6 separate regions of the Homo sapiens genome follow, and all the other regions are linked to region 3. The links are contacts of gene promoters, found by promoter capture Hi-C in blood cells and fetal thymus (Javierre and others, 2016). All regions are on one chromosome and are shown on one strand. The core of a region is centred on a gene start or on the middle of the fragment in contact, and the rest is flanking DNA. Distances in the headings are between cores, read along the strand shown. Region 1 has its middle 5.8 kb from the start of TPPP3. Region 2 overlaps LOC124903702 (a long non-coding RNA gene). Region 3 holds the start of ELMO3 (engulfment and cell motility 3). Region 4 holds the start of CES4A (carboxylesterase 4A). Region 5 overlaps CES3 (carboxylesterase 3). Region 6 overlaps ZDHHC1 (zDHHC palmitoyltransferase 1).

Region 1 (3,454 bases), core at 706-3,205, 190 kb after region 3:
GGGAGCTGAGGGGCTGAGAGGAGGTAAGCAGGAGCAAGGTTGCACCACTCTTTGAAGATTTTAGATTGGGAAGGCAGAGGAGTGACAGACTGTGTTTGAAAAGCTTTCTCAGGACCAGGCATAGGGGCTCACACCTGTAATCCCAGTACTTAGGGAGATCGAGGCGGGAGGATTGCTTGAGACCAGCCTGGGCAACATAGTGAGACTCCGTCTCTACAAAAAAATTTTAAAAGTTAAGGCGCAGTGGTGCATGCCTGTGGGCCCAATTACTAGGGAGGTTGAGGCATGAGGATCACTTGAGCCCAAGAGTTCAAGGCTGCAGTGAGCTATGATTGCACCACTGCACTCCAGCCTGGGCAACAGAGCAAAACCCTGTCTCCAAAAAAAAAAAAAAGAAGAAGAAAGAAGAAGAAGCAGGAGGAGAGAAGAAGAGAATGGGTTGATCATGTGTGAAGTAGCGGGGGACCAAAGCGGAGCTAGGCAGCCCAAAGAAGAGGCAGAGGCAGGCCGGACTAGATATGCTGCTTCTGAATATGTTAGCTTTGGGCTCAGCATCCAGTTTACATGCAGGTGCCCTGTACTTTTAATCCTGATTGGGCATTTGAAAAATCAATGGGGAAAGATGATGTAAGTGGTTCTAGGTATGTTTCTGCTTCAGTGGCCTCCCAGCGTGCTAATGTTGCCAGAGAGTGTGTAGAAAGTGAAGGATTTTCAACCTAATGCCACATGGTTCTTCTCTTCACCTTCAGGGCCACATCAGAGAGAGAGACAGGTGGAAGGATTAGATAATTTACTTGTACCCCTGATTCCATGCTGTGCAGGGAAGGAGAGCCACCACCATACTAATAAGACATGACAGTCACAAGTTTCTAAGTTATAAATCCACAGACTTCTGGATTTTAAGTGGCTTCCCAAAAGCAGCTTGTACAGAGGAGCCAGAAGTTTCTTTGAGCTGCAAGGCTCTGAGGGAGCTAGAGCGAGCTTGTGCTCTGTGGAAATGTCAGTAAGAGCAGCCTCCCTGCACCCCCGCTGCCTCTTTCCTGGGCCTGTCTTTGTCTCCCAGGTAGGGGAGCATCAGCCAGTGGCCTTGCATCCCTGAGTTGTTATATTTCAGGGTCTCAGCCCAGTGCACAGGCCAACCTAATGGACACACCAGGGGGCAGGGAGGAATAATGCACTGCTTTCCTCCAACCCAGCCCTTCCTGCCTCCTCCATGAACACCTGATGGTGCTAGCCCCAGAATCCACTCAGGACACCTCCTAAGGGGAACAAAGAGCCTGGCCCAGTGTGTGCCACCCTCCACCCCATTTGCCATTGTCATTGAAAGTGACCGACCCTGCCCCAGGCCAGGCACCTGCTAGGTTTGCTGGCCACTCCTGGGGAAGTCATCTGTTTCTGATTTTTCCCTGTATGGCACTTGTTCTACAGGGCACGGGTAGGGGTTGCGATGTTAAGGAGAGAGCCAAAGAGCTCAGGGCAAACTGGACTCAACATGGAAAGCGGAGGACCCTTTAAACAAGCAGAAAACACGTGGAGCAGAATCCCACACCCTAGGCCTGGCACTACCACCAGAAAGCAGGACAGGTCTGGGATGGAGACTGGTCCTCAGGGAGGTTCTATGTCCAGAGGGAGGGGCAGAGCCACTCTTAGGTTGGGAGTTCTCCCAGCCATACAGAGCAGGTTTTAAAGGCTCTGTCCCTCTGATCCTAACCTCTCCTTTGTCTAACCTGATTTTGCTAGCAAGGGTATCCAAAGCTTTCAACCACAAGGAGGCTGTTAGGGGAGGGGCAGTGGCATTGCTGGGCAATGGCTGTCATGTGCCAGATTCTGCTAGACCCGTCTGGTCTTAGGGTCCTCCCAGCCCTGAGTGGGCCTTAAATTCCCTCGGGCTTCATAACGGCATTTCGAGAAGAGGCGGCTTTACTCCTATGACGTGGGGTTTTGGGGCTCAGCCATTCTCTCTGTGTTCTTCCAAGCCATACTGCCAGTCACAGGAATGGAGAAGCCGCTGGGCCCTCTACCATTGGATGGTACTGTCACCTGCAGTGGAATAGTGGGAGCCTGGCCCAATTTGGAACACAGTTAAATTTGTTTCCCTGTGAGGCTGTTCTGGTGAAAGCCAGAGGATTTGGGTTTCACTCCTATTATGTTCATTTTAAGCTTGCAATTCAAACGAATTTTCCAGGGCTAGAGGAATTGTTCCTCTGCATTTTTTTTTTTTCATTAAACGCCTTGCATTCTACCTCTTAACATTTGCTGGTGGGAGGATCTGCCTGAAGGTCCCTGAAGCTCTTCCCTGGGCCACTCAAGGAGACGCGGTCAGCTGGGTCAGGAGGAGCCGCGCTGTGAGGCAAGGCTCTGCTGTGGCCAGGTGCCCACCTGCTGCCTGCCGATTCCCGCCTGACATCCCTGTCTCAAGCCATACTATTCCGCTACACCCCTGTCCCCAAGGAAAGCTGGGCTTAAGGGATGTGGGGCCACCTGGGCAGGAGCATCCCCCAATAGACTGTGGGATGAGAGGATAAACAATGGTGCTGCTTTGTCTTGTGATCTGGGTCAGGAAAGCAGGCATTTGGGAACTGGCCCTTTTATACCTTTTCTAGCCCCTTTGGGAGCCACCCTCTCCTGGGTAGGCCCTAAAGTCCCATCCAGCCCCATTTTCACAGCAAGGAAGGAAGGAGAGGTAGCCCGAAAGCCTTGGCTTGGGAATAGCTCTGTCAAAACACCCAGAGCCTCAGTGAGATGATCTGGAAACGCCCAGGCATCCTCAGGACCAGAGAGGCTCCCTTCCCCCACTAGGGATGTGGAACAGATGGGAGGACATCAAAGAGGAGGCCCCTTTACTGAGGGATGCCCTGCTCCCACCACAGGCTAGTGTTGGGTGCCAAGCCCTATCACCAGTCAGCCAGTCCCAGTTTTGGAAGTCAATGCTGGGGCTTGCTAGAAAGAGCCTGGCCTGGGAGGCAAGAGGCATGGTCTGGCCTCTAGTCTGCAGAAGCCCCTCCACCTCTCTGGATGTTTCCTCAGCTATAAAATTACGGAGTCAGATGAGCTACTCTCTTTTTTTTTTTTTTTTTTTTTTTTTTTTTTTGAGACAAAGTGTCTGTTGCCCACACTGGAGTGCAGTGGCGTGATCTCGGCTCACAGCAACCTCCAACTCCTGGATTCAAGCGATTCTCCTGCCTCAGTCTCCTGAGTAGCTGGGAGGGACTACAGGCACGCAACACCATGCCCAGCCAATTTTTGTATTTTTAATCGAGACGGGGTATCACTATGTTGGTCAGGCTGGTCTTGAACTCCTGACCTCATGATCCACCCGCCTCAGCCTCCCAAAGTGCTGGGATTACAGGCGTGAGCCACCGCGCCCGGCCTGGATGAGCTACTCTCTAAGGTTCTGCCTGGCCCTGCGTTTTCTGTATTCTGAGCCAGAACCCAAAATGACTTGCCTCGGTAG
Region 2 (3,520 bases), core at 29-2,528, 230 kb after region 3:
CCTGTCCCTCCAGTCAGACAGAAGAGGAGGGAATTATTATTCCTCCCACAGGGGAGGAATAATGTTTGTATTGTTTACTATTGCTTCCCTAGCACAGAGCCCAGAACATACTAAGCACTCAAGAAATGTGTGTTGAGGCTGCTGTAATCCCAGCACTTACTAAGCCCAGAACATACTAAGCACTCAAGAAATGTGTGTTGAGGCCGCTGTAATCCCAGCACTTTCGGAGGCCAAGGTGGGAGGATTGTTTGAGCCCAGGAGTTCAAGACCAGCCTGGGCAACATAGCAAGACCCTGTGTTTACAAAAAATTTAAAAATTAGCGGTGCATGATGACGCATGCCTGTAGTCCAAGCTACTCAGGAGGCTGAGAAGGGGAGGATCCCTGGAGCCCAGGAGTTCGAGGCTGCAGTGACCTATGAGTGACTGCACCACTGTAGCCTGGGCAACAAAGCAAGACTCTGTCTCTAAAAATAATAATCATAAAGAAAGAAATGTGTGTCAAACACGTGAAGAATAAAAAAGGATAGCGCTACTTATAGGAATTCTTCTGTGAAGCCTTGTGTAAATAACCAAATTATTTTTGTGTAAAAATGGACTTTCCTATATTATCCCACCTCTTCAACATAGTAAATCTATTTTTTCCATGTTCCTTGTTAAGCTTTTTGTAAAATTTGCTGCATTCAAGGCACTTTCCTCCCATTAATTTTCTTCCCTGTTAAGTGGTTTTTACGACCACTTCATGCTTTAAGCAAGAAGTGCCATTTAGTATTTAAAATATTCTCTCAGCTTTCTTGGTGAGATCTTTGGCAACCTTCCTACTGTTGATTGTAACTGGTGCGACTTGGAACACGATGTCACTCTTCCAGAACTCTTCTCAGACCTAGATAAAACTTACTCTGTGTCACCAGTTGGGGACAAGGTGTTTGGAAACAGTACCTTATGCAACAGAACTGCTGGAGGGCCGCCCCTCAGAGGCAAATGAAATAAAAATCATGGTGTGTGGAAAATGTGCCCGCAGAGTCCCAGGAACCAAAGATTTTAAAGCTTCTCTGCCAGTAATTCAGTTTTTATTTTATGTTTCTTGGAAAACTGAAGTCTTGTGTTTACCACGTGTCACCTAAGATGCAGAAAGGGGGAAAAAAGTGATCCTGGTTGGTGAAGATTTCCATTTCAATGGCAGCCTGGTCCAAGCTGTTCTCTTGCAACTGACTCCCGCCTCTCCCCCACCAGCCCCCTCCCGCCCCTGCACAGGCTCCCTGGGGAGGGGTATTTCCTTTCAGTGTGAAATCTGTCTTTTTGCTCGCTCATTTCTATGGGGAATGGCACATCCATGCAAAGTTGTTGGCTGCTCTTATTTTATTTCAAAAATGTGCTGGCCTCAGACACCTGAAGTTTTCCTCGAATACTTTAAAGCAAATTATGTGCAGGAACCTCTCAGACCTGCTCTCACCGGAATTTCCTTTGAGTGTTCATATCTCAGAGCCTTATGTAACCTGACACAATTATCTGAAAAAGCTTGGAATCCAAAAGAAAGGTGTTCTGAGCTAGGAATGAAGGTCAGAGCTGGGAAAGAAGTGCTCTCCCTTGCCTGGGGACTGGGTCACACTTCACTACGACAATGCCCAATTCACGTTCCAAAGAAAAAATACTAAACCTCTGGCAGGGTGACCAGTGGGTACACTCGCCTCATTTCTCTGAACAAGGAATCGCTTAATGAGGGCTCCCGGGGCATTACAAAGCCTTGGACCTGGCTGGCGGTTAAAAATATTTCGATAACCACCTCCAGCTTCTGGCCTTCCCAGGATGGAAGCAGGAGTGGCTTGGGCCCCTTTAGGAGAATAACCCCTCCGCTGACTGCAAAAATCAACCCAGCTGGACAGTTGGGGTCTCGTGCCGGAGGTCAGTGCTGCAAATGGGGTATAGGTGGGGGTCTGGAATTCACATTTTTATACCAAGTGGTTGGTCTAGGTGATTTGACTCAAGCCTGGCCCAAGACTCCCCCGCCCCAGCCCACTCCCAACACAAGGCGGAAGGAGAGCGAGGACATTAACTGTAAGTACAGACCTAAAACTGGGGGCAACCAGGAGATGACCCCGCATTCTGGAAAGCCCTCAGGCCAAGAAGCTCTTTTTCTTCTTGAGAAATATCAACCCTGCTCGATATTTGCATACCAGCGGTGAGGGACCTCCACGGAGCAGAGGCACCACTCATAGGTGGTTGACTTTTCAAGGAATTCGCTGGAGAAAATTGTACGCAAGGCTGTGAACAAAACCCCCCTCCATCTGGTTTCAGTTTATTTAAAAAAACAACACACACAGTCCTCCCCACCAGCAATCAGAAGACAGCCACAGCTTCCCCAGGGGGCGTATTAGCCACCAGGGGTGGGGCTGAATTATGTATATGCAAATAAATTAAAACAGCCAGCCAACAGCAACTAATTTTTGTATCTTTTGCAGTTGTTGTGCCAAGAAAAGGCCTGAATCAGGGTGATGGAAGCTGTAAGGAGACAAGTTTGGAATGAGTTTTAACAATCAAGTTGCCTCAATTCCGTCGTTGGGAGACTTGTTTTTAATCGAGCAGCAAATAGCAAAAGGTCGGTAGCCTTATCCTTATGTATAGGATAAGGATAATGATAGTACCTACTTCATAGTGATGACGTGAGGATAGTAAATAAAATAAAGACCAAGCAAGCTAAGCACAAGGACTGGCATGCCACAAACACACAACCACACTGGAGGATACAAGACGGATCCTAGAAGGATTTCATCCAGAGTCAGTCAAGCTCTCCCTCCAAATGCTCTCAGCTGAGGCTTGCTTTCCGCCTGGGACTGGTCCAGAAAGCCCTGCAGAACATACTCTCTCTGTTTCCCAAACTCAAGGACCCTAATCCCCAAACATCTGCCTTTAATCCTGGAGACAGTAAAAGTTCGGAGGAGGGTGCCAGACACAGGCTGAAAACACAAGTGATGCTCCTGGCTTTCTGTGTCTTACTGCCTCCCTCTCTGGTAACTGGAGGGGAGGTTTCCTTCAGTTCCGTAACTGAAGGGCCTGGTTTCCAGGTGCCCAGCCCAGATGGGATAGCTCTGAAAAATGGTGGAGGCAGGGGCGAGTTCAGTTCATGCCTAGGGTAATCAGAGGGGAGTCGGCAACCTCCAGGGCTCCCACGCTACAGGAGCAACATGCTGGAGCCCACAGGCTTCCACCTGCCTTGGGGCTCAGCCTTTGCATGTTCAGGGGTGCCTCAAGCTCAGTTTGTTTGAACAGACCTCTGCTCCGTCCCTCATCTGGATGCAGGAACAAGACTCCCAGCCTCAAGAATCACTTGAAGCCAGCAGTTCAAGACCAGCCTGGGCAACATAGTGAGACCCCTGTCTCTACAAAAAATTTAAAAAACAATAGCCAGGTGTGGTGGTGAGTGCCTGTAGTCCCAGCTACTACGGAGGCCTGAGATGGCAGGATCGCCTGAGCCCAGGAGTTCAAGGCTGCAGTGAGCCGTGATTGTGCCACTGTACTCCAGCC
Region 3 (3,600 bases), core at 264-2,763:
GCTGTCAGAAATCTTTGATCCCACACGAGGTAGGCTGCTGCATTCCTCCCTGAGGCTAGGGGTAAGGGACACAGCTCATTGGGTCCTATGGCTGTTTTCTTGCCCTTTTGAGGACCTTGTTGTGGCGCTTATGGTAACTGGGGCAAAGGGTGAAGTTCCTGATGGGCAGGTGGGGTTCCCTTTCCTGGGCTTTGGTGGGTGGAGAGGTGGGAGCTGGAATGTTAGTAACTGAGCTCCCTCCATTCCCAGAGTGCATGAGCTCGGAGCTGCTGGAGGAGTTGATGTCCTCAGAAGGTGGGTGGCCCTGGAAGGTGGGAGTGGGTGTGGGCAGGGGTTGGGCTGCTGCTAGGGGAGCCCTGGCCCAGGGCCTGAGACTAGTGCTCTCTGCAGTGTTTGCCCCTCTGCTTCGTCTTTCTCCACCCCCGGGAGACCACGATTATATCTACAACCTGGACGAGAGTGAAGGTGTCTGTGACCTCTTTGATGTGCCTGTTCTCAACCTCTGACTGACAGGGACATGCCCTGTGTGGCTGGGACCCAGACTGTCTGACCTGGGGGTTGCCTGGGGACCTCTCCCACCCGACCCCTACAGAGCTTGAGAGCCACAGACGCCTGGCTTCTCCGGCCTCCCCTCACCGCACAGTTCTGGCCACAGCTCCCGCTCCTGTGCTGGCACTTCTGTGCTCGCAGAGCAGGGGAACAGGACTCAGCCCCCATCACCGTGGAGCCAAAGTGTTTGCTTCTCCCTTTCTGCGGCCTTCGCCAGCCCAGGCTCGGCTGCCACCCAGTGGCACAGAACCGAGGAGCTGCCATTACCCCCCATAGGGGGCAGTGTCTTGTTCCTGCCAGCCTCAGTGTCTTGCTTCTGCCAGCTCCTTCCCCTAGGAGGGAAGGGTGGGGTGGAACTGGGCACATGCCAGCACCACTTCTAGCTTCCTTCGCTATCCCCCACCCCCTGACCCTCCAGCTCCTCCTGGCCCTCTCACGTGCCCACTTCTGCTGGGCCTTTAGCCCTAGAACCTGCAGGTGGTGGGGGCGGCTACCAAGAAGGAACAGAGGTCTCTGGGGAGGAGTCTGGGTGGTCCAGCCCTGATGATTGGCCCCACCTCCTGCTGCCCCATAACCCTCTCTTCATTTCGGCTTTTTCATTTACCCTCATTTAGAGCCATTTGCAGAGATTTAGAAAGATTTACAGTAACGAATGGATTCCTATATAAAGATTATTTTTATACTTTTTGCAGCAAAAGGAAATTGTAATATTTGTACAGTGTTCAAGTGAATAAAAACCATGCCTAAGGCTAGCTCTGATGTGGTTCTTTGGGGACCCTCCTTGGGACTGTGCTGGACTGGCAGTGTGATTGGGTGGGTCACCTTGCTGGAACTAGGGGTGGGGCGGCCTCCGGCAGCCTGCCCTCCCCGCCCCCACCTGCCGCACCTTGGTGTGGGGCGGGGCCGCCTCGGCGGGGCGGGGCAGGCGGAGCCGTCCTACCTTCCTACCCCCAGACTCCAACCCGGAACTAACCTCGGCTCCCTTGGGAAGGCCGCGTTGCATGGCCAGGAGCAGCAGTCTGGGCCGCGAGTGCGGGACACCGAGGTCAGGTCTCGGAAAGGGAGGACCTCCTCGTCCCCAGGGGCCCCAGGCCAGGTGCACCCTTGGCCGCAGGTGCACGGTCTCCGGAAAGTGCAGGCGCCCACGTCCCAGCTGGACCATGGCGCCTCCGCGGAACGTGGTGAAGATTGCCATCAAGATGCGTGACGCCATCCCGCAGCTCATCCAGCTGGACCAGGTCACCCGGCTGGTCCCGCCTCCATCTGCCCCACTGCCCCACCTCCCGGTAGCCCCCTGGCCCTCGGGGCAGCCCGCCCCACCCCTCCCCCCAGGCTCCTCCCCATCCCTCCCTGCCCAGGCCGCGAGAATGACCACTCCACTTGCAGGCGAAGCCCCTGGCCGCTGTGCTGAAGGAGGTGTGCGACGCGTGAGTGCTGCCGGGCCAGGGCCTGCGGAGGGCGGGAGGGCAGGAGGGGCGGCGCCCCCTGCCGGCCTCGCTGAGCCTCGTGCCCCTCAGGTGGAGCCTGACGCACTCTGAGCGTTACGCCCTGCAGTTTGCGGATGGGCACCGGAGATACATCACCGAGAATGTGAGTCCCCTCTCCCCAGCCCCAAGCTCGGCCTTCCGACCCCTCTAACCCACCTGGCCCCGATAACTCTGGCTCTTCATCCCACTACCGGAGCGCGATCTGTTATTCACCCCCAGCCGCCCTCACCGACACCCCAGTTGATCAGTCCTCGGAGCCCTCCCTGACCTCGCTGCCTTTTCTGCTGTCTTCTCCAGAACCGCGCGGAGATCAAGAATGGCAGCATCCTGTGCCTCAGCACGGCCCCAGTAATGCCCCTCCCGTCCCGCCTTCCCCATCCCTGCCCCTTTGCTCCAGGTCCAGAGGCCCCCCGCCCCGGAGGCCCCCGCCCCAGCCCTGCCTTGCGCCACCTAGTTGACGCCCGGGGCCGCACACTTCCAGGTCCCACCCTTACCATGCCCAGCCTCTTCACCTCTGCTCCTGCTCCGTTCCTGCCAGGACCTTGAGGCTGAGCAGCTCTTGGGTGGGCTGCAGAGTAACAGTCCTGAAGGGCGCCGGGAAGCCCTGAGGCGCCTTGTTCCGCTGGCCTCGGACATGATCTTTGCCAGGGAGGTCATCAGCCGTAATGGGCTCCAGATACTAGGCACCATCATTGAAGATGGGGACGAGTGAGCACAGGGATGTGTGGGCTGGGGGAGATGGTGGGTCTTTCTGGTCCTGGGGTGGTCCTGCTCAGCCCCAGATGTCCCCCCTCCAGCCTAGGAGAGGTGCTGGCCCTCAGCCTGAGGGCCTTCTCAGAGCTCATGGAGCACGGCGTGGTGTCCTGGGAGACTCTGAGCATCCCCTTTGTGAGGAAGGTGGGTGGGCTTTCCTAGGGCAGCGGGTGGGGGCAGTGGAGCAGTGGGGCAGTGGTAGACCCGGTCTTCCATGGGGGTGAGGTGGTGACACCCCCGCCCCTTACAGGTGGTGTGCTACGTGAACATGAACCTCATGGATGCCTCCGTGCCTCCCCTGGCCCTTGGGCTGCTGGAGAGTGTGACCTTGAGCAGCCCAGCCCTGGGCCAGCTGGTCAAGAGCGAGGTGCCCCTGGATAGGCTGCTGGTGCACCTACAGGTGTAAGCCTCTGGGGCTGGGGTCCAGATGCAGGGAGCAGGGCTGGAGCCTGAATGTTCCACTGAGCCCTCTTCTTGCCATAGGATGAACCAGCAGCTGCAAACCAAGGCCATGGCCCTGCTGACAGCCTTGCTGCAGGGGGCCAGCCCTGTGGAACGCAAGGTGAGTGTCGATCGGTGGCTAGATGGGGGCAGCACCCGGTGGGCGCTGCCCCACCCTGAAGCAAAATCCTCTAAGCCCCCCTTTTTTTTTTTTTTGAGATGGAGTCTTGCTCTGTCGCCCAGGCTGGAGTGCAGTGGTGCGATCTTGGCTCACTGCAAGCTCTGCCTCCCGGGTTCACACCATTCTCCTGCCTCAGCCTCCCGAGTAGCTGGGACTACAGGCTCCCGCCACCACGCCCAGCTGATTTTT
Region 4 (3,110 bases), core at 478-2,977, 210 kb before region 3:
GTTACCTCGCTGTGAGTTCTCACCCCACTTCTTTCCCCTCAAGCCTGTGGGCATGAGACCATGGGGAAGATGAGTGGTGCTTTCCACCATAGGAGGCTCAGCCAGCCAGAGCCTGACTCCACCCCGCCATCGTGAGTGGGGCAGAAGGGGCTGCAATGGGATGGGCCACACCTCTGCTGAGGTGGGGCAAGGGATATTGGAGGTTTGCCCATGTAGACCCCACAGGATAAGTGGCAGAGGCAGGGGTGGGGGGTCATCTTGGGCCTTCATTAGAGGAGCACAGAGCCCAGGCAGCAATGATTGGGCAGTGAATGCCACATTCCTTGGGACTGAGGAAGGGTCACAAGGATGGGAACTGTGGGAGAGGAGTCCCAAATAAAGAGCATCTCCGAAGAACTCAGAAAATTGACTGTGAAAGAAGGAGGTTTAACCATCTGTCAGGCCTATAGAGCAAGAGGCTGTGGGCCAAGGGAGAAGTTCTCTGTTCCCCTGCCTTTTCCCCTCCCCAGCACAGAAGCCCAACAGACCCTCTTTTCACAAAGATGGGCCAGGACCCCAGACTTTGGGGGTACACGAGAGAGGAAACATCTTACCTTTTTTTTGTTCTTTGAGATGGAGTCTCACTCTGTCGCCCAGGCTGGAGTACAGTGACGCCATCTTGGCTCACTGCAAGCTCCGCCTCCTGGTTTCAAGCAATTCTCTTGCCTCAGCCTCCTGAGTAGCTGGAACTACGGGCGCGTGCCACCACGCCCGGATAATTTTTTGTATTTTTAGTAGGGACGGGGTGTTAGCCAGGATGGTCTCGATCTTCTGACCTCGTGACCCGCCTGCCTCAGCCTCCCAAAGTGTTGGGATTACAGGCATGAGCCACCGTGCCTGGCCTATTTATTTTTGAGACAGGGTCTCACTCTGTCACCCAGGCTGGAGTGCAGTGGCCCGATCTCGGCTCACTACAACCTCCGCCTCCCAGGTTCAAGCCATCCTCCTGCCTCAGCCTCCTGAGTAGCTGGGACTACAGGCACACACTACCACGCCCAGCTAATTTTTGTATTCTTTGTTTTAGTAGAGACGGGGTTTCACCATGTTGGCCAGGCTGGTCTCGAACTCCTGACCTCAGGTGATCCACCTGCCTCAGCCTTCCAAAGTGCTGGTATTACAGGCATGAGCCACCACACCCAGCCCCATCTTACCTTTGACTGAAGATGGGACTGCTGTCTCCTTGCTTCCACCTCCCACACTTGCTCCTGTGGCTCCAAACTTCAAACAGGATCTTTCTTTGCCTGGCCCACTCCTCCTCATCCTTTACTTAGAAGATTAGATCTTTTCCAGGGAATCTTCATTCCCACCACCCGGCTCTGGGCTCACTCCTCGGGTGCCCCTCTGGGCTCCCACATTACGGTTGCTTTCAGGTCCAGCTTCCGCATGTGGACTATGAAACTGTGAGGACAGCCAAGGGTCAGCATGTGCGAGGAAAGGCAGGGAAGAGGCTAGACGAGGCACTGGGGAGCAGGGAGGCCCAAGACCCTTAAATCCACAGACAGGAAGCCCTGGCTGAAGGGCCAAGTAACCAGGTGTTCTACTTCAATCTTGGCACCCACTGTATGCTTAGACCTTGACTCACACATGTTCAGCTTTAAGCCACTGCACAGATGAGCAAACGGGGCGGAGATTGCAGGCTGATCAGTTTGAAGAGCCAAGATCATCTAGCGTGACCTGTTGCCCAAGGCAGAGACAAGGCTGTGGGCTGGTCAGAAGCTGGTTACAATTCCTCCCGCCCCAGTACTTGCTGGCAGGGATTAAGAGCAGATAAAAGTGTGCTCACACACTGTAGACACGGCTACCATGCCATCCACAGTGTTGCCATCCACAGTGTTGCCATCACTCCTGCCCACAGCAGGAGCTGGCTGGAGCATGAGGTGGATTCTGTGCTGGAGCCTCACCCTCTGCCTGATGGCGCAGACGGCCTTGGGTAAGACCCCCACCCCTTCCCGAGAGTGTCAGGCAAGACGGGCACAAGGGATGGAGGGACAGGCCCCAGTTCAACCTCTCCTGGGGACAGCAGGGCAGGAGCACTTAGACAAGGCCTGGGCAAATGGAGGGTAGGGTTTCAGGACACTAAACCATCTACCAGCTGGGAGTCTGGACAAGTCCTTTAGCCTCCCTGAACCTCAGGGCTTCTCTGTATTTCCTGCCTCCCGGCACAGGTGAAGGGGTCTGAGAACATGGCCACATCTTTTCTTCCTTCCCACCTTTTTCCTTCCTTCCATCCTTCTTTCCTTCTCCTAAGCAGGAGGCCTGTCTCTGCCCCCTCTCTGCTACATGAACCTCTTTACCACCTTCAAATTTCTCCCCAATATCTTTCTTTTTAAAATGAGTACTACACTTTTTACTGTGAAAACAATCTAATACATTAACAAAAGTTTACTGAGGTATAAGATGTATACAGCAAGGTGCACACATCTTCACTGTATAATTATATCTATTATACTAATTATTATATATATATATATGGTAACCATTATCCAGATCAACATCTAGAACATTTCCAGTGGGTTAGGCATGGTAGCTCATGCCTGTAATTCCAGCACTTTGAGAGGCTGAGGTGGGAGGATTACTTGAGCCCAGGAGTTTGAGACCAGCCTGGGCAAATAGTGAGACCTAGCCTGGGTAAATAGACTCTGTCTCTATTTTTAAAAAACATTTTTTAAAAAGTTTTTTTAACTTACAAGGATACACCTGTAATCCCAGCACTTTGGGAGGCCGAAGCGGGCAGATCACCTGAGGTCAGGAGTTTGAGACCAGCCTAACCAATATTATTACCCCGTCTCTACTAAAAATACAAAACTAGCCAGGCATGGTGGCACATGCCTGTAATCCCAGCTACTCAGGAGGCTGAGGCAGGAGAATCGCTTGAAGCCAGGAGGCAGAGGTTGTAGTGAGCCGAGATCGTGCCATTGCACTCCAGCCTGGGCAACAAGAGCGAAACTCTATCTCAAAAAAAAAAACAAAAAACCATCTCCAGCGTCCCATGTACTCCTTCTCAGTCAATACTCAAAGTTACCACTAGTCTGACCTCTATCATAAATAAATTTTGCCCATATATACATATA
Region 5 (3,096 bases), core at 362-2,861, 230 kb before region 3:
CCTCCACCTCCTGGGTTCAAGAGTTTCTCCTGCCTCAGCCTCCCAAGCAGCTGGGATTACAGGCACATGCCACCACACCCAGCTTTCACCACGTTGGCCAGGCTGGTCTCAAGCTCCTGACCTCAAGTAATCCATCTGCTTTGGCCTTCCGAAGTGTTGGGATTACAGGCGTGGGCCACTTCAATAAAGCAAATGTTTTCTTTTGGGGAACAAGGTTTTTGCACAAACTGGCCTTCTGGGCACTGCTGATCTGGGCAGCATATTCCTGCCTTGGCGTCTGGTTTATACATCAGGCTCTATGAGACTGGTTAGTGTGACTCTGTGCCAGAGCAATTGACTAAAACTCTCAGGTTTTAGATATCAAGCCACCGGGGACTTCATGAGCCAAGTCCCTTCCATTCCTTTCCAGGTGCATAGAACTTCCCACAAGAGTGTCAGCACTGTGCTTTCATCCCGAGCATCTTGTTTCTGTCATTCTTATTCTTCTACCCATCTTCACAGCAATCATTTTCTTCACTTTTCTTTTTTTTTTTTTTTCGTCTTGGCCCATTGCACACCCTAAGACAAAGCAATCCATTTTTGTTGTTGTTGTTGTTTGTGTGTTTGTTTGTTTTTTGAGACAGAGCCTCGATCCATCATCCAGGCTGCAGTGCAGCAGCGCCATCATGACTCTCTACTGCCTCAACCTCTCAGGCCCGAGCAATCCTCCCAGCTTCCTGAGTAGCTCGGGCCTCAGGTCTGTGCCACCATACTCTGCTAACTTTTTTTTTCTTCCGTGTATAGTCAGGTCTCCCTCTGTTGCCCAAGCTGGTCTAGAGCACCTGGCCTCAAGCAATCCTCTTGCCTCGACCTCCCACAGTGCTGGGATTACAGACATGAGCCACAGCACCCAGCCAACAACCACTTTTAATGGCTGCAAATCTTCCACAAATGGAGCGTCTCGTTACATTGTTCTTTCATCTTGGCATTTGGGCATCTTCTAGTTTTTTTGTTTGTTTGTTTGTTTTGTTTTTGAGATGGAGTTTTGCTCTTGTTGCCCAGGGTGGAGTGCAATGGCGCGATCTTAGCTCACCGCACTGCAACCTCTGCCTCCCAGGTTCAAGCGATTCTCCTGCCTCAGCCTCCTGAGTAGCTGGGATTACAGGCATCTGCCACCATGCCTGGCTAATTTTTGTATTTTTTTTAGTAGAGATGGGGTTTCTCCATGTTGGACAGGCTGATCTGGAACTCCTGAACTCAGGTGATCCACCAGCCTTGGCCTCCCAAAATGCTGGGATTACAGGCATGAGGCTGCACCCGGTCCTGGCAACTTCTAGTTTTTACCACTGAGGCTAATAGCGCAGTGAATGTCTTCATGTCCATGGCTTTTGTCCTCTGACTTAGCCCTTTGGAATCAATCCCCTCATATTGGTCCCTTGGTATGTGAGAGAGAGGCTCATGCAATCTTGACATTCAAAGACAAAGCTTAAGCCGGGTGCGGTGGCTCATGCCTATAATCCCAGCACTTTGGGAGGCTGAGGTGAGTGGGTCACTTGAAGTCAGGAGTTCGAGACCAGCCTAGCCAACATGGTGAAACCCCATCTGTACTAAAAATACAAAAATTAGCTGGGCGTGGTGGTGCATGCCTGTAATTCCAGCTACTCAGGAGGCTGAGGCACGAGAATCACTTGAACCCAGGAGGCAGAGGCTGCAGTGAGCCGAGACTGTCCCACTATACTCCAGCCTGGGTGACAGAGTGAGACACTGTCTCACAAAATACAAAGCTTGTAAAAGTTTTCAGGTCAATGCCCTCAACTCTGGCAGGCAGCCTTTACCCCACACCATCAACTTACAGTTGTATGAGTGAAACCAAGGGAACCCCAACCTGGCTGTGCCCCAGGACCTGGGTAGATCTGCCTGGCGTGGAAGGCTGTGCCCAGGACTTGTTGCTGAGAATGTTTCTTAGAAGTTGGGTGACTCAGGCTGGGCCCGGCGGCTCATGCCTTTAATCCCAGCACTTTGGGAGGCCAAGGCAGGCGGATCACTCAAGGCCAGGAGTGTGAGACCAGCCTGGCCAACATGGCATAACCCCACCTCTACTAAAAATACAAAAATTAGCCAGGCACGGTGGTGCACGTCTGCGGTCCCAGCTACTCGGGAGGCTGAGGCAGGAGAATAGCTTGAACCCAGGAGGCGGAGGTTGCGGTGAGCCGAGATTGCGCCACTGCACTCCAGCCTGGGCAACGGAGTGAGTCTCTGTCTCAAAAAAAAAATGTTGAAGAAATTTTTCATTCTCTACAGTTGCCTTTAACCACTTGCCTGTTGTATTTGGGGCTGCTCTCCCCATCCACACCAACCACCTCCCACCAATTTGCGGTTTATCTTTTTGGATCTGTGGACTTTTCGGCCCCATTTTGGCCAAGTGCTCCATGATGAGTTTCTGGCCTCAGGACCGTGAACACTCTCTTGCCCAGGGCTGGGAGTCGGGGTGAGCCGGTGGTCAGGCTCCACTGAGAGGGCCTTGGTGTCCACACAGGGCTGGGGTCTCCTGGATACAATGGAGCAGATGAGCCGGGAGGACATGCTGGCCATCTCAACACCCGTCTTGACCAGTCTGGTGAGACAAGAGGCAGGAGGGAGGAAGCTAGGGCAGGAGGGAGGAAGCTAGTGGGTATCCCATCCAACAGCACAGTCTCTGCCCCTACCTTCCGACACCCACAGCTACCCACCTACCACCAAGCCCCTTTGTCTAACTGATCAATTTTACTTCCACTCCGGAATCTCCTTAGATATGAGCCAGTGTGGTTCTCAAAGGAAAACCATCATCACCATCATCGTCAACATGAAACTGCCCGTTAATGAGCACATATTACGTGCCAGGGACTATGGTGCACTGAGCGCCGGGAGAGGGTTTCATCTCCTTCAATCCTCACTGCAACTCTGTTTTCTTTTCTTTTCTTTTCTTTGTTTTTTTTTTTTTTTTTGAGACAGAGTCTTGCTCTGTCGCCAAGGCTGGAGTGCAGTGGCCCGATCTCGGCTCACCGCAACATCCACCTCCCTCATTCAAGCGATTCTCCTGCCTCAGCCTCCCGAGTAGCTGGGATTACAGGCCCCTGC
Region 6 (3,452 bases), core at 133-2,632, 210 kb after region 3:
GATTTATTCAGGACACAGTGCTGCTGCCTGTAACTCAAAGTGCTGTCTTCACAGCCATCACAGTTAAACCCAATAAGACATGTTCTCATCTGGTAACAATATCAGGCTGGGGCCAGAGTGATGAGAACACATGCTGATTCTGTTAGGATTAGTCACCTCCTTCCTGAGGTCCAAATGCAAGTGTCAGACACCCCCGCTATCCTTTGCTCAGGGAAACGGGGAATGGGGTGCCCAGAAGGAGGATCTGCCCTCTCCCCCACGGTGGACAGAAAATCCCTTTAGGACTGGGGGAGTCTGAAGCTCTGCCCCATGCTGCCTGAGGGTTCTCAGCTGGGGAGGGGCCAGCACATGTGAGGAAGGGAAGGATTCCTCTTTAGTTCCCTTCAGCAGCAGAAATGACCACGTTTCTCTAAGTAAATCTGGGCCTGGTGTACAGTTTTGTACAGAAAGGTGGGCTAACGCCCTTGGACTCAGAGCCAGACCACCAGATGGCATCAACCACCCCCTCCACCCGCCACCCTCTAGCCGGACAGCTGGCCCAGGGTCCAGGGATGAATGCCAGGCAAGAAGGGGTAGGCTACAGGAGGAAGACCCCCATCCCCAGGATATGGGCCCAAGATGGGACAACAGCTCAGGCAGGCAGCGCCACACCTGGGAGACAGGCCAGCTCTGCGCTCATGGTGGGAAGGCCAGGAGCTGGGACTAAAACCCTGGTAGCTGAACTCTCCTTTCAGGAGCCCCTGCCCATGAGACAGGGAACCTAAGCAGAAAGGGTGCCGCAGACCCCGACTCAGTGCATCTTCCTGGATCACCTTTCTCACTTCTCAATCCACAGAATGAGGCTTGATCTTCAGAGCCAACTGCAAGGGTTGCCTCATCCAGGAAGCTTTCCCTGATGCCCTGAGTCAGGGGGCCCTTATGCTAAGTCATTGTTGGGCAAATTACTTTGCCATTTGGGACGCTTTGCAATCCTCATGTCTGCCCTCATTAGGACAACTTTCCCCAAAGGCAGCAAATGTGCTGGGTGGGGTTTATTCATCTCTGTCCCCTATGTCCCTTCCCCCAGGCACCCAAAATTGTACCTTGTACATAGTAGATCCTCAGTAAATGTTTGCTGACTTGAAAACAGCTGAAATAAAAGGAAACGTGGGCACAGTAAATGGTGTGGAATCCTGGTCCACCCTAAGCCATCTGGCCTGCTTTCTCCTGCCTTCCATCCATCCAGCCCTGCCCTCTTTCTGCAGGGTCGTGAACCCATGCCTCCCGCAGCCCATCTCCCTCTGCCGGCTGGCTACCACCCTGACTGCCAGACACTCACTCCTAGCCACCCTGCCCTTCAGCCCACCTGAGGCTCAGAGCCTCCTGCAGGCCAAGCCAAGCATTATTTGAAGTGACCTCTGAGTTGTCCCATCTCAAAGCTAAATGGAGGACTTAGTTTTCCCCCAGGGATTCAACTGGTGGTATTTGGGTTTTGGGTTTAGGGTTTTTTTTTTTCTTCTGAGACAGGATCTTGCTCTGTTGCCCAGGCTGGAGTGCAGTGGCACCATCACAGCTCACTGTAACCTTGACCTCCTGGGCTCAAGTGATCCTCCCACCTCAGCCTCCAGAGTAGCTGGAAGTACAGGCACGCACCACCACACCTGGCTACTTTATTTTATTTTTTTGTAAAGACAGGGTCCCACTATGTTGCCCAGGGTGGTCTCCAACTCCTGGACTCCAGACTCAAGAGATCCGCCAGCCTTGGCCTCCCAAAGTGCTGGGATTAGAGGCGTGAGCCACCGTGCCCGGCCTTGCTTTGTTTTGTTTTGTTTTTTGTTTTTGAAACAGGGTCTTGCGCTGTCACCCAGGCTGGAGTGCCGTGGCGCAATGATAGCTCACTGAAGCTTCAATCTCCTGGGCTCAAGTGATCCTCCTGCCTCAGCCTCCTGAGTAGCTAGAAATACAGCGGCGTGTTGCCATGCCTAGCTATTTATTTTTTATTTTTGCAGAGACAGTCCCACTATGTTGCCCAGGCTGGTCTCCAACTCCTGGGCTCAAGCGATCTTCCCACTTTATCCTCCCAAAGCACTGAGATTACATGCATGACCCACTATCCCAGCCCTCACTTTCTTTTGCATGTCCCCAAAGATAGCAAATCTTTGTCCTTGTATTGTGGAATTGTCAAAGGTCATCAGGTCAAGCCCTGTGAATATGATTGGGTTGGATGGTTCTGCTCTGGGGCCAATCTCTGTGGCTTGCACATCAGCTCCCCAGTGACACCATCACCAGGGCAATTACTTTGAAAGGAATCCATTAATTTGGATTCCTAAATTCTGGCTCTCCTTTTGCCATCCCCAAACCTGAACAACCCTACACCTTGCAGGAGTTTCCAAAGAGCAAAACAGACGCATGCAGCTGATCTGGCCCCACTGCCTGGCAGTGGCCACAGGCACCCCCAGAGCTGCTGTATCCCTGACTCCTGAGGCAGGAGGAGTCACCATCTGCAGCCAGGCGCCCGCCACTTACAGCCTTGGGGATGGCTCTGACTCCAAATCAGGATACCCCCTGATACTCCAAATCAGGATACCCGCTGATACTCCAAATCAGGATACCCCCTGATACTCCAAATCAGGATACCCCCTGATACTCCAAATCAGGATACTCCCTGATACTCCAAATCGGATACCCCCTGATACTCCAAATCAGGATACCCCCGATACTCCAAATCAGGCCCAGGAAGGGAGCACTTGTCTGAGGCTGTGGATGTGGGGATGGTGCTGCCAGGCAGACCTCCCTCAGCAGAGGCAGCATTCTGGTATAGACGCCCAGGCTGGCCCAGAGGCATGCCCAGGCCAGCCCACTCTTCACTGACGACATTTTCTCCTGCAGAGTTGGTGGCTACAAATTCCTTCGGCCCAAAAGATTTTGATTAAAAGGGCTGGGAGGTCGGAGAGAATCCAAGATGGGGCTCCCAGGCCCATGGATGGGACCAAGCACTGTCACCAGACCCCGGGACTTCTCTGGCTGTTGCTCCCCTCTCAGCACTTCTCTAGGAGACCAGATTGAAAGACATGTGGCTCTGTTCTCCAACGACGTAGCCAGCTGGCACCCTCTGACCTTGGCCAGTCAGCACTTATCGGAGCCCAGCCTGCGCACTTAGGATGTAAACACAGATGAGACCGGGTGCCTGCCCTCAGGGGCTTCTCTTCTGGGACCTGGACGGACACGAACAGATACCAGGGCAGTGGGTGAATGGGCATTTTGGCAGCCCATGCAAGGGCCAGCCATCCAATGTGGCAGAACACAGGGTGGACAGGTGGCGGGGGTGGGGGGTGGGGGAAGGAGGGAATGGAGAGCAGGACCCAGTGAGAGATGGGACTGAAGGAGTTGCGGGGCTCAGATCACAGGGGTCTAGGAGGCCAGGTGAGGACACATGGGCACTGCTGGAAGAGCCACATGGAGGCAAAGCAGGC

Evidence for each region. Contacts are between HindIII fragments. The CHiCAGO score rates a contact against its expected background, and 5 or more counts as called.
Region 1: a contact is called between a fragment that was not itself captured here and the fragment with the promoter of ELMO3 in region 3, in 1 of 17 cell types (endothelial precursors). The highest score is 5.0, in endothelial precursors.
Region 2: a fragment that was not itself captured here is called in contact with the fragment with the promoter of ELMO3 in region 3 in 1 of 17 cell types (endothelial precursors); the score reaches 5.2 in endothelial precursors.
Region 4: a contact is called between the fragment with the promoter of CES4A here and the fragment with the promoter of ELMO3 in region 3, in 16 of 17 cell types (total CD8 T cells, M0 macrophages, erythroblasts and 13 more). The highest score is 16.0, in total CD8 T cells.
Region 5: a fragment that was not itself captured here is called in contact with the fragment with the promoter of ELMO3 in region 3 in 1 of 17 cell types (M0 macrophages); the score reaches 5.8 in M0 macrophages.
Region 6: a fragment that was not itself captured here is called in contact with the fragment with the promoter of ELMO3 in region 3 in 2 of 17 cell types (endothelial precursors and M0 macrophages); the score reaches 6.0 in endothelial precursors.

Annotation. Positions count from the first base shown.
Region 1 is chr16:67,385,967-67,389,420 of GRCh38, forward strand. No RefSeq gene overlaps it. Among named protein-coding and RNA genes, the nearest start is that of TPPP3, 5.8 kb to the right of the region's middle. The HindIII fragment of the contact is 405 bases long and covers 1,754-2,158 here.
Region 2 is chr16:67,422,922-67,426,441 of GRCh38, forward strand. LOC124903702 (a long non-coding RNA gene) reads left to right here. Exons shown (of 2, transcript XR_007065093.1): 2 at 2,458-3,520. Among named protein-coding and RNA genes, the nearest start is that of HSD11B2, 6.4 kb to the right of the region's middle. RefSeq lists an enhancer at 1,304-1,898. The HindIII fragment of the contact is 471 bases long and covers 1,044-1,514 here.
Region 3 is chr16:67,197,618-67,201,217 of GRCh38, forward strand. ELMO3 (engulfment and cell motility 3) reads left to right here and starts at 1,514. Exons shown (of 20, transcript NM_024712.5): 1 at 1,514-1,787; 2 at 1,936-1,976; 3 at 2,067-2,139; 4 at 2,334-2,384; 5 at 2,575-2,744; 6 at 2,834-2,933; 7 at 3,040-3,191; 8 at 3,273-3,351. The coding sequence starts at 1,710. It overlaps E2F4 (E2F transcription factor 4), which reads left to right. Exons shown (of 10, transcript NM_001950.4): 8 at 1-29; 9 at 250-294; 10 at 391-1,301. The coding sequence ends at 506. RefSeq lists a silencer at 850-909. The HindIII fragment of the contact is 7,654 bases long and covers 1-3,600 here.
Region 4 is chr16:66,986,862-66,989,971 of GRCh38, forward strand. It overlaps CES4A (carboxylesterase 4A), which reads left to right and starts at 1,728. Exons shown (of 14, transcript NM_001364782.1): 1 at 1,728-1,969. The coding sequence starts at 1,912. The HindIII fragment of the contact is 37,432 bases long and covers 1-3,110 here.
Region 5 is chr16:66,967,164-66,970,259 of GRCh38, forward strand. It overlaps CES3 (carboxylesterase 3), which reads left to right. Exons shown (of 13, transcript NM_024922.6): 9 at 2,516-2,596. Among named protein-coding and RNA genes, the nearest start is that of CES3, 7.4 kb to the left of the region's middle. The HindIII fragment of the contact is 299 bases long and covers 1,463-1,761 here.
Region 6 is chr16:67,406,685-67,410,136 of GRCh38, forward strand. ZDHHC1 (zDHHC palmitoyltransferase 1) reads right to left here. Exons shown (of 12, transcript NM_001323627.2): 2 at 1,083-1,129. The coding sequence starts at 1,091. Among named protein-coding and RNA genes, the nearest start is that of ZDHHC1, 8.1 kb to the right of the region's middle. RefSeq lists enhancers at 1-19, 20-906, 907-1,792. The HindIII fragment of the contact is 997 bases long and covers 885-1,881 here.